Linked DNA regions of Homo sapiens: all the other regions are linked to region 3. The links are contacts of gene promoters, found by promoter capture Hi-C in human tissues and cell types (Jung and others, 2019). All regions are on one chromosome and are shown on one strand. The core of a region is centred on a gene start or on the middle of the fragment in contact, and the rest is flanking DNA. Distances in the headings are between cores, read along the strand shown.

Region 1 (3,720 bases), core at 652-3,151, 500 kb after region 3:
TCTACCTCAAAGTCCAAGGAAGCTGACAGGCCAAAGAAAGAGGCTGACAAATTCACATCTTTTTTTTTTTTTTTCTTTTGAGGCAGAGTCTTGCTCTGTCGCCCAGGCTGGAGTGCAGTGGCGCCATCTCGGCTCACTGCAAGCTCCGCTTCCCGGGTTCACGCCATTCTCCTGCCTCAGCCTCCCGAGTAGCTGGAACTACAGGCGCCCGCCACCACGCCCGGCTAATTTTTTGTATTTTTAGTAGAGACGGGGTTTCACCGGGTTAGCCAGGATGGTCTCGATCTCCTGACCTCGTGAAATGCCCACCTCGGTCTCCCAAAGTGCTGAGATTACAGGCGTGAGCCACCGCGCCTGGCCCACAAATTCAGTTCTTAAAAAGAAACATTTAATAGGGACTTAGAAACAGAAGCCATGTCAGTCTCAGGCTACGGTGAGTCAAGATGGCGGCTCCCTGCGCCGTCACCACCCAGGCCCAGGGCTTCTATTGCCATAGTGCAGGGGACATGCCTCAGAGGGGGTGGGCAGGAATTTCCCTAAGGCCAGGACTTGTGATAAGGATGTGCTCTTACACAAGGAACAACAGATGAACGGGAACTCTCAGAGGCATTCCCGGAACTGAGGTTAATCAGAAGCCAACACGACAAACTAGCGTCCAAGATGGAGCGGCTTCGGCCTCCATGATCCGCCCGCGCCGCCCCACTAATCCAGCTCTGACCGTCTCACCTGCCCTCCTCTTCCGCGATGGTCCCTGAGCCTTAGGGAGGGTGCTTGGGGTTGTCTGGCTTCAGCAGCGGTGCCTTGGCGTCGGAAAACAGGTCGGGCCCGGTGAGAGTCCCAGTGAGGGAGGGTCACCGGCTGTTGAATCATCTCTAGTCTTCAGGATACCACGACTTCTGTTTTCTCAGAGAAAATAAAACAACAAGAGATACATAACATTAATAATTTGCACACAAGGATGACAATCAAAAGGGAATTTGTATTTCAGAACAGTAACAAAAAAGAACCTATTTCATTAAGAAGCCGACTAAAAGCATCGTGAAGGAAACTAAAACCCGGTTTTTCTTTAGAGACTTGTAGCCAGTGAATGATTCAGGATTAGCCCAAATTGTAAGCAAATAATAACTCAAAAACAACGGTCAGAGCTAGGATCTAAATTTTTCTCTCTCTAGTTTCCCCATTTCTACCAAGGATAAATCATAGTAGGACCAGTTTATTTGCAAAATAAATTTCGGTCTCATTATACTTGGCCTATTTGCATGAAGCGTGGCAAGAATAGTTACCAGCCCTAGAGGCTTTTTTTTTTTTTTTTTTTCCCTGTGACAGGGGCTTGCTCTGTCAGCCATGCTGGAGTACAATGGTGCAATCAGAGCTCACTGCAGCCTCAGCCTCTCAGGCTCAAACACTCCTCCTGCCTCAGCCTCCCGAGTAGCTGGGACCCTTGGCACACCCCACCACACCCAGCTCATTTTTTATGTTTTGTAGAGACAGGGTCTCAGCATGTTGCCTAAGCTGGTCGGCTCTTTTTAAGTTGGCTTTGCTGGAACTTTTTTAGGGAATTTTGGACTCAACTTATTAAAAGCCTCAAGGGTAGGAAGCCAAGCGAAGGATTCACTGAATGAAATTGAAGTATTTTACCGCAAATTGTGTTTCTTTGCCATGTCTTGAAATAGCCTTGCAAAGCTTTCTCTTGTGGGGAAAAGCTGCATTCTGAAGAGAATCCTTTTCCTTTTTCAGGACTTTTCCCTGATTCAAGAGAGAATCAACTCTGGTAAGAAACATTTACAATCTGTTCTCTCTGAAGCTACCTGGAGGCTTTCTCTGTGTAATAGGAACTTGGTCACCACAATCCCTCATTAACCCAGACATTCCTTCTTTTGATTCCAGGTCTTTAGATAGTAACTCCTTCAACCAATTGCCAATCAGTAAATCTTTGAATCTACCTATGACCTGGAAGTCCCTGTTTCAAGTTGTCCCACCTTTCCTGATCGAACAAATGTATGTCTTCCCTGTATTGATTGGTGTCTCATGGCTCCCTAAAATTTATAAAACCAAGTTGTGGCCCAAACACCTTGGGCACTTGTTCTCACGGTCTCCTGAGGCCGTGTCATGGGCCACAGTCTCTCATATTTGGCTCAGAATAAATCTCTTCCAATATTTTACAGTTTGACTCTTTTCGTTGATTTTTTCATGCCTTTACTTTTGCAGTAGTAGGTAGGGGTTTCCCCAGTCCACGTACAATATCCATTTTCCATTTTCCTTTTTTTTTTTTTTCCTGAGTCTCTATTGCCCAGGCTGGAGTGCAATGGCACAATCTCGGCTCACTGCAGCCTCTGCCTCTTGGGTTCAAGCAATTCTCCTGCCTCAGCCTCCCCAATAGCTGGGACTACAGGTGCATGCCACCATGCCCGGCTAATTTTTGTATTTTTAGTATAGATGGGGTTTCATCATGTTGGTCAGGGTGGTCTTGAACTCCTAACCCCAAGTGATCCGCCCACCTCGGCCTCCCAAAGTGCTAGGATTACAGGTGTGAACCACTGTACCAGCTTCAATATCCATTTTCATAAAGCATTTAGGTAAAGGATATGTAATGCCTTACATAAAGCCTGTTTAAACATCTCGGCTTTCATAACTCTATCACACAAGTCGACTTTCATAACTCGACGTCTTTCTGTTCTGCTCCCAGGAACTTCTTTTTCCCACCTCCAGACCATTTTACCCTCTCTTGTGAAAAAGGATGTGGGTGCCCCACAGGGGCTTGATCCAAGGGACCCTGGCCCTTCTGTCAATCTTATCTTGATTAACCCACCTCAACATTGGCCCCCGCAATTGTTGGTCAGTTTGCTCAGTGTAACTTTTGCCTTCCAATTTTTATAGTTAGAGTGCCTTCTCCAATCTGGCAAAAACTGTTTTGGAGCTCTTTACTGTTGAGGGACCAGCGGGGGCTCCCTTTGTTCACCCAACTTTCGATAGTGTTGTATTAAGACCTTTGTGAATAACCCCCCATTATTCATTCCATTGCTTAACAACCATGTACAGATTCCACCCCGCTAGGATGCACCCCATGACTCTCTCCTTTCCTTTTTCCTCTTGGTTTCACCCCATCCACTTTTTACCTTTTTTTTGAGATGGAGTCTTACTCTGCCACCCAGGCTGGAGTGCAGTGGCAGTCTTGACTCACTGCAATTCTCCTCCCTCAGTCTCCTGAGTAGCTGGGATTACAGGTGCGCGCCACCACACCTGGCTAATTTTTGTATTTTTAGTAGAGATGAGGTTTCGCCATGTTGGCCAGGCCAGTCTCGAACTCCTGATCTCAGGTGGTCTGCCCACCTCTGCCCCTCAAAGTGCTGAGATTACAGGCGTGAGCCACCAGGCCTGGCCCATTTTTTACCTATTTAAAACTAATCGTTTAAAAATTTTCCCCTTCCTAGGATGAGTCCTTGGACTCCCTTTTGCCTTTCCCAATAATTTTATTAATTAGCCTAAAGTTTTTATAAGCATCTGGATGACCCATGAGGGGAAGTTGAGACCCAATGAGGTGCCCAGGCCAATGGGCCCCCTTAACCACAGCATTTACCATGATCTGGGCATACTCAGCCGTGAATATCCCGGTCATCATAAAGTCAGTCCCACATGGCTTGCTTACGAAGCACATCAGCTGCTTCATCGGGGGTGCTCCACTTGGCGTTTATGGGGAAAGTTGGGTGGTCCCCTTCTCTT
Region 2 (4,297 bases), core at 768-3,267, 480 kb after region 3:
ACAGAGTCTCACAACATTCAAAACGCCCAGGACACAATCCAAAATTACTTCTACAAAAAATCAGGAAAATCTCAATGAGCAAGGAAAATGGCAATCAGTAGCTGCCAGTGCTGAGATGACATGAGGGTTGGAATCACCAACATCTTTAAAGTAATTATCATAAGCATTCTCTAGCAAGTAATGGCAAACACTCTTGAGATAAATGGAAAGATAAGAAGGCTCAGGGAGAAAGTGGAATGTACAAAGAATGACCAAGTGGGAATTGCACCACTGGAAACATAATCACCAGGATAAAGCAGTCTCTGGCTGGGCCAACAGGAGAATGGAAATGAAAAGGGAAAGAGTTGTTATGGCAGTTGTCCAATTTGAACAACACAAAAGACACTGATTTAAAAAAAAATGAGGCAGGGCTCAGTGGCTCACACCTATAATCCCAATACTTTGGGAGGCCGAGGCAGATGTATCACCTGAGGTCAGGAGTTCAAGACTACCCTGGCCAACATGGCAAAATCCCATCTCTACTGAAAATACAAGAATTAGCTGGGCATGGTGGCAGGTGCCTGCAATCCCAGCTACTCAGGAGGCTGAGGCAGGAGAATCACTTGAACTCGGGAGGTAGAGGGTGCAGTGAGCCAAAATCGCACCTCTGCATTCCAGCCTGGGTGACAGAGGGAGACTCTGTCTCAAAACAAAACAAAACAAAAAATGAACAGCACCTCAGGAACAATACCAAAAAGTCCAACAGCTGTATAATTGGTGGCCCAGAAGGAGAGGAGAAAGAGTGGAGTACAGAAATGAGATCTGAAGAACTAATGACTGATAATGTTTCAATTTTGAAAAAGGACATAAACCTAAAGATTATAGATTCAAAAGCCCAGTGAATTCAAATAGGATAAATACAGATGCAGATATATTATCATTAAACTGTTGAAATAAATTGGTTTTGTCACAAGCCAGCATTGTCACTGTGGGAGAAAAGAGATCAAAAGTACACAAGGAAGGAAGGAAATACAGAATATTATGGCCATGGGAAAGAGGTGTCAGTGTGAATACATAGAACAGCACACTTAAGCAACAATCCCAAATGATGGGGCTTTCTACAAAACAGTTGGCCTTTACTCTTCAAAAGTGTCAGGTCACGAAATAAATCCATGCTGAGGACCCGTTCCAGGTTAAAGCAGACTAAAGGGGCTGGACAACCAAGTGAAACGTGTGAGCTTGGATTAGATGCTGGACTAGAGAAGGCTGTGAGGGGGACAATGGCTGAAATGTGAATGAGGTCTATAGATTAGATTATAAGTTGTATCAGTGCTGATTCTGTGGTTTTGATCATTGTACTATAGTTATGAAAAATGTTAAGACTTGGAAAATCTATATAAAGCAGACGGCATAATTCTTGTACTTTTTTTGCAACTTTTTAATAAACCTGAAACTATTTCAAAATGAAAAGTTAATCCAAGCTGTCTTGAGTAGAAGTTAAAACAACAACAACAAAAGAAAATTGAAAAGTTAAAAATGAACCCCCAACAGAATGTTCCCCTTTATTTTTCTTTCATGTAAGGACGCAGGATATGCATTTTGCTCAGCTACCACCCTTCACTGCATCCCATTTTGAGAAGTGGTATTTTCTTCATTCATCTGTTCTAGGTTTTTAAAAAAATATTTAAGATCTTCTCTTTTTAAAGAATCTGTTCATTTGGAATGTACTTTTTGCATTTTTACTTGTGAAAATATGTATTTATCCTTTTTGTTATGAATGTATGACTTCACTGTGTCAGAGAATATGGTCTTAAGAGATACAGAAAACTTTTGAGAATGATAAGATCTGGACATGCTAGATGAAATCAAAGCCCTGGATGTCCTTGTTCAAGCTTCCAGGGTTGAGTGCCTGAGTGCCTGAGTGCCGGGGGCATGTGGCGTCCATCACGCTCACAGGGTGAGAGCCGAGGAAGCAGTTTGTTTCACTGAACATTAACTTGAGAAAACAAACTGTCCTCCCCACATTTTCTCAGCCTTGGTCACTGTCCTTTCAGGAGCTCAGAGACTTCTGGGTCTGCTCCCAGTCTTCATGGTCCCTGGTGTCCCCACAGTGTGGAGCCCCTTGCCCTACTTTTGGGGACTGTTAGACAAAGAGGGGATGCATCAGAGCTGAGGCTGGGGCTGAGTCTGGAAGGGGGTGGACCTGCATCTCACCCCGGGCTGTGATGGCTGCATCCTCCTCCTTGGGCCTCCAAGGTTGCTGCGTAAGAACCCCAGGAATCCTCCCCAGTACCTCTGTCCTCTGTCAGGCCCAGCCCAGGTCTGAGGGAAGGGGCAGGAGGGGGATTCAGGCGAGGGTCCCTGGGATGCAGACCCCTGTGAGGATAGGGCTGGAGGGGCCAGGAGGACACATCCCAGTGGGCACAGAGGAGGCGTCCAGGGGCAGGACCAATGGTTGAGGGGAGAGAGCAGGGGTCGGGGCCCTGGCGAGGTTCTGCCTCTGCTCCCAGTGTAGACCTGCTGCCTGCGTAATGGACAGGGTTCTCCTGATCCTGGGGCCCATGCTGGTGTATGCAGAGAAAGGTGAAGACACCAGGACGGGGTGGAAGGAAAGGCCAGCTGTGTCTCTGTGGTGTAAGGCGCATGTTTCCTTGAGGACAACGCAGGCCTGCTGTGCTGAGTGCATTTTGCCCTGTGACCCTGCAGCGGAGTGGGATGCTATGTGGCTTCACACCCACGGCTGTGAACACCGGCCCCAGGGTGGAGAATGTGTGCTCAGGGTTGAGGGTGTCACCTGAGGTGCTATGAGCTTGGGGTCTTTGGGCATCTTCACATGGTAGTGGCTGGGCCCAGACCCAGGTGTGCTCGGAGCCCATGGCTCTGCCCTCACCCCTCCTCCTGCAAACTGAAGCCTGTCATGCTACCACTGCCTCCACACCAATGCCAGCAGGCCTACAAGCCAGTCTCCTGCAGTGCCCAGGAAAGCCTGGGTTTCTTCCAGCTTGCGGTGGTCCACACAGGGCAGGGCCAGCCGGGACAGTCCCTGGAGAGGGTGGGGGTGGGCTTCTGAGCTCCGTGGTTCCCTCCACGGGCTCCTGCCCAGCTGTGAGCAGGGCCTGGGGGTCCAGGGTTAGGGGACCTAGACTTTGAGTTCCGGCCTGGGCAGCCTCCCCTCCCTTCATCCTCCTCGTGGACTCAGCTGGGGACTCCATGCTGGGCCTCTGGATCCCTTAGGAAAAGCAGGCCGTGGGATGCCACATACGCCTGGAGGGGAGGGGAGCAGCCAGGAGTCCAGAGAGCCAATGACACCCATCTCTTTTGGGGTGACCAGATAGAGAATTGATGTACATTCCAATTCCATGGGAGGACCCTGGGTAACAGGAAGTCCTCTCCCTGCTCTGGTTCCAAAGGGCATAAGCCACAGTGCAGTTCAACTCTCCACTCTACAGCAGGCACCAGCGGGCATCCCCGGGACACAGGCACCAGTGGGCATCCCCAGGACATGCCAGCCATGTGTCTCTGTCTTCTTTCATTCTTATTTATTTGTTTATTATTTTTATTTTGTAGACATGGGGTCTCACTATGTTGCTCTGGCTGGTCTCAAACTCCTGGGCTCAAGTAATCCTCTGCCTCAGCTTCCCAAACTGCTGGGATTACAGGCATGAGCTGCCGCACCGTCACCCTCCTCTTTCTTTGTGATAATTTCTGAGTATTTTGGGGGCTAGCAGGTGCAGAGCTGGCTTGTTACTTTCAAAGGCCTCAAAGCCCCACCTGGCCAGGCCGCCACCCTGCTGTACGTGGTTTTGCATCCTCTGTCACCCGTCTAGATAAGAGAGGCACATTTTGAATTTTGGCTGCAAGCCACCTTCCCTCAAAAACTCCCTCGCTGATGTGCTGATGGGCATGCAGCCCTCGGCACGCCCGTGGCCCTCCCGGCACCATGTCCTCTTCTCCCAGTGGTTTGGGGTGATGGCTGGTGGTCTTATATTTATTCATTTATCTTTGAGATAGGGTCTTGTTCTGTCACCCAGGATAGAGTGCAGTGGCACGATCATGGCTCACTGAAGCCTTGCCCTCTCAGACTCAAGTGATCCTCCCACCTCAGCCTCCCAAGTAGCTGGGACAACAGGCACGTGCCACCACACCCAACTTATTTATTTATTTATTTATTTATTTATTTATTTATAGAATGGGGGTCTACTATGTTGCCCAGGCTGATCTCCAACTCCTGGCCTCAGGGGATCCTCCCACCTTGGCCTCCCAGAGTGCCAGGATTACAGGCATGAGCCACTGCACCCGGCCAGCCAGCTGGGGCTTT
Region 3 (4,220 bases), core at 286-2,785:
CGAGTCCGCCCGGAGCTCGAGGGGGCACCCAGCTGGACCAGGGCTTCCCCTGCAGGAGTCAGCCCCAGCTCAAAAGTCCTGGTGGGCAAAGCCACAGGCTGGATGTAGTGGGCAGGCTGGGGGCTCCGGGATGCCCTCTACTCGGGCTGGGTCCGGTCACTGGCCACGGACTCGCTGTTGGGGGCGGGCGTGAGGGTCTCCGCCTCATCCTCCACCGGGAGGTGGGGGCCGGCCGGCTCGGCCGCCTGCTCCAGGTCATCCTGCACCTCCATGCCCCTCTGGATGAGCTGCTCCAGGGTCTTGGGCAGGGGGTGGCGCAGGAAACGCTTGAGCTTGGGCTGCAGGGTGCCCACCACGTACTGGATGATCTCCTCCTCGTCCGCGTCCACGTAGAGCGTCTGGTACAGGTCCCGCTTGCGCCACAGGAACTGGTCCAGCGGCTCGCCCTGCTTCTGCGGCAGGTCCAGCTCGCGCTGGATGGCCTCTCGGGACAGCGTGCCCTCGCTGTACTGCAGGAACTCCTTCTTGAACTCCACCCAGTTCTTCACGGAGCCCTGCTTGAACTCCCACCACTTCTTGGCCGGCCCGTTCATGTGATTCTGGATCTGGGACAGCCAGTACTCCTCAGAGCCGCCCACCTGCCGCAAGTACTCCTCTAGGTGGCTCAGGAACTCTCGAGGGTCCTCGAAGATCTGCGTGTCCACGCCGGGGCTGGGCTGCCCGTCCTCGCCGGGGACCCACGGCTGGTACTGCTGGGCCTCGGCGGGCTCCTGCCCGGGCAGCTCGCCAGCGGCTGGGGGCGGGGTGATGGCGTAGGGGCTGACGGTGTAGTCGTAGCCGTCTGCCTCGTGGCAGTAGCTCTCGGGACCCCCCACGCCCACGGAAACGGTGTGGCGGGCTGACTCGCTGCCCACCGGGTACTTGCCGCCCGTGGACTCCAGGCGGTCGGCCCAGCGCTCCAGGCGGTAGAACACCTCGCGCCACACGTGCATCTCGCGCTTGACCCAGCGCTCCAGGTTGGCGATGGTCTCCTGGCAGCGGCACAGGCAGGCCTTGATGGACTTCTTCCAGCGCTGCGAGTCGCTCGTGGGCACGTAGCCGTCCAGGTTGCTCTCCAGCTTCCCGACCGACCGGTGCAGCCCCTTCAGCTCGCGCTCCACCTGCTTGGACACCTCGGCCAGCAGGTGCCGGTGCGTCCGCCGCACGTGCTCCAGCATCTCGGCCCGGCACTTCCCGATCTGCAGGATCACGTTGGGCTTGGCCACCTGCCCGCCCCGCGGCCCGGGGTAGGCGTGGAGCCCGCCGCTGGTCCGGTGGTCCAGCTCCATCTGTGCGCAGGTGCTCCGGCAGGCGGCAAACTCCTCGGGGCGGACAGAGGGTGGTCCGGCGCTGGGGTCCGGCGGCCTGGGTCCCGTGCGGAGCTGCGGGGAGCGCCTGTCTGTCGCTGCGGGCCGGCGGCGGGGCCGGCGGAGCACGCCCGGGGAGGCAGGTCCGGCTCGGCTGCTGCGGAGGGAGGACGCCGCGCCCGAGCTCTGCGCTGAGTCCTGGCCGCCGGCTCTTTATGCAGCCAGCGAGGCCCGTGGGCGGCCGGCTCGCCGAGCCCGGTTTCTCATTGGCCCAGCCGCAGGCTCCCCGCCAGCGCCCCGCCCGCGCCCCTGCAGGCCCCGCCCTGCGCCCACTCGGCTCCCGGGCGGCAAGGGACGGGAGGTCCCACCCCCTGCACACATGGCGGGGCCAGGATGACTAATCCCTCCGCTCCGTACCTCCCACCCCGGACGGCGGGGCTCATTCAGCCTGCGGGGACCGAGGGACTGAGCCGGGCACTGGGCGCCCCTCCCACGCCCCCTCCCGGGCGCTGGGCGGGCTGTCATCTGCTGCCTCCCAGGGTCCCAAGGTGGCCTTCCTCCTCTCCACTCGCCTCTCTCTTTGCGGGGCTGGAGGGGGCTGGCGCTGGCCACTGCTCTCCTGGGTCCTCACTGCCCCTGACCCCGCCCACCCAGCTCTGCAGGATGTGCAGCTGAGCCCGGGAAGGACCCTCACCATCAGCCTCTGTGCCCAGGGGCTCAGCAAGTCTCCATGTGAGCTCCCAGATGTGGCTTTGAGCTCCCACTCACTCCTGCCCGGGTCCTGAGTCCAGGTCTTGGGCTCTGTGTGAGGGACGCACAGCCAGGCAGAGGCTCGCTCTGCCTGGCCCTGGCGTTGGTGTGCATGGGTGACAGGGGCCCACGTGGCAGTGACTGGACAGGGCTGCCCCATGCCCCCATACGCAGGTCTCTGGTGAGGCCCAATACTTTTCTGTGTTTCCAGGGAAATCTGGCAGCTGCTACCTGGGGGGCTGGGGTTTGGAGGACATGGAGGGGACATTTAGCCCCCAGTGAAGGGAATTGGGCCCTGAAGACCCTGGCTATATCAAGAACCTGGCCAGAGGCTCCAAGACTTCTAAGGGGATGGAAGAGGGGAGGAGAGAGGGAGACAGGGAGGGAGGTGGAAGGAGGGAAAGGAGAAGGGGAGGGAGGAGAGGCGAGGAGGGAGAGGGAGGGGGGCCGGTGCTGGCAGCACAGTGCCATCAGGAGAGGCAGAGGGAAGCCAAGCACCATATAAGGAGCGGGGCTCCGGAAGCCGAGACTCCCTCGGGAGGGAGGTCCCTTCTGCCTCCCTGGCAACCTGGCGGGGGTAGGGACGCCCTTCCTGAGTTACTCCAGTGCTGGCTGGATAGGCATGGGTCTCAGGTCCTCTGATGTTACCCAGGCAGGGGTGACACACACCATTCCCCACAGCCAGAGGGCCATGAGGACATCATCGCTGACAATCAAGACATCTTGTTCCTGCTGCCAGCTGCCCTTTCCCTCTCTCAGACACACACATGCTGCACACTCACACCCCCACATACACACTCATAGCCCCCACTCTAACCCCACCCCACACACTCATGCCCTCACTCACAGCCCCCACACACACTCATACCCCCCACTCATAGCTCCCACATACACACTCATACCCCCCACTCATAGCTCCCACATACACACTCATACCCCCCACTCACAGCCCTCAGCTCCCCCCAGCATCCCCTGTCTTATTCAGGCACTCAAGGGCACACAGGTGCCCACTTGCTGGAATCCCCCCTCCCTGCCAACCCTCTGAGCCCCCCCCCAACCGGCTCTCCCGGGGAGCCCTCTCCCAGCCTCAGAGCCAGTCTGTCTCCTCCTTCCTTCCGCCCCTGGGGGGGAATGTCTTTCTGGCAAAAAAACTCCCCAAAAATGGCTCTCCTGGCATTTCTAATTAAAGGTAAGTGGGCGGACAGAGAAGGGAGGGCGGAGGGGCACCGCGGAGCTGGGAGGGGGAGCCAGGCAGAGAAGTCTCCAGCACAGGGACCTTCCCGCTTCTCCACTGCGGAATCCCAGGGAGAGGAGCTGGGTGGGCACATGCGGGACGGGCAGACGCCAGCAGCCTTGGGTGAGTGCAGCCAGCGGTCACCGAGGGCCACATGTCCGGGTTGGGGCCAGCCTGAGCCTGTAGGTGTTGTCTGGGTGCTGGGCACTGACCGTGCATGTGTGTCCATTGTGAGAGCCAGCACTTCAATGACCAGGGGCCAGCCCCGCCAGGGTTTACAAGCCCGTGTGGCCTCTGACGTCCCCGCCAGGGCACAGCTCTTAGGCCTCTGGCCAGCAGTGGCCTCCAGCTGCCACCCCCACCCAAGGCATCAGCAAGCTGACAAGGAGGCAGGACTGGGGACACGTGAGCCAAGGTCATAGGTGGTGCCGCTGCCTCAGTTCCCTCACCTGTGTGGAGGGAGCCAGGCCTGGAGAAGGGTGAGTGCCCAAGGTGGCCCGGTGAGCAAGGCAGGGCTGGGCAGGAGCCAGGCCCTTGGTGAGGAATCCTGGCGTCCTCTGCTCAATGCCCCGTGGCCCATCACCACCCCTGTCACCTGCTAAACAGCAAGCCAGAAGTGGCCAAGCCGAGACCGGTGGGAGAGCACAGTGCCTGCCCTGGATGGCACGAGGGCAGGCAGCGTCGGGGGTGCCACGCGGAGCCCCGTCTTCCCCTCCCCAACCCCCTCCAGCAGGGTCTGCAGAGGCTGTGAATGCAGGCCTGAGCTGACCGGTGACAGGCAACAGCCGCAGCTGCCAGGAACGCTTAATCGCTGCCCAATTATCGCCCCAGAAGCCCTCACCAAACCCCCGCACTGCAGCCTCGGGAAAGGAGGCCAGGCTGACTCCCAT

What was found. The method cuts DNA at HindIII sites, captures the fragments that hold promoters and counts their contacts. A contact is called where the count stands out against the background at its distance.
Region 1: a fragment that was not itself captured here is called in contact with the fragment with the promoter of ARC in region 3 in 1 of the 25 tissues and cell types used here (lymphoblastoid cells).
Region 2: a fragment that was not itself captured here is called in contact with the fragment with the promoter of ARC in region 3 in 1 of the 25 tissues and cell types used here (lymphoblastoid cells).

The regions. Positions count from the first base shown.
Region 1 is chr8:143,108,259-143,111,978 of GRCh38, forward strand. No RefSeq gene overlaps it. Among named protein-coding and RNA genes, the nearest start is that of LY6L, 29 kb to the left of the region's middle. The HindIII fragment of the contact is 5,687 bases long and covers 1-3,720 here.
Region 2 is chr8:143,089,776-143,094,072 of GRCh38, forward strand. No RefSeq gene overlaps it. Among named protein-coding and RNA genes, the nearest start is that of LY6L, 11 kb to the left of the region's middle. The HindIII fragment of the contact is 3,258 bases long and covers 389-3,646 here.
Region 3 is chr8:142,612,944-142,617,163 of GRCh38, forward strand. It overlaps ARC (activity regulated cytoskeleton associated protein), which reads right to left and starts at 1,536. Exons shown (of 3, transcript NM_015193.5): 1 at 1-1,536. The coding sequence starts at 1,328. The coding sequence ends at 138. RefSeq lists an enhancer at 729-1,627 and a silencer at 1,643-1,852. The HindIII fragment of the contact is 38,144 bases long and covers 1-4,220 here.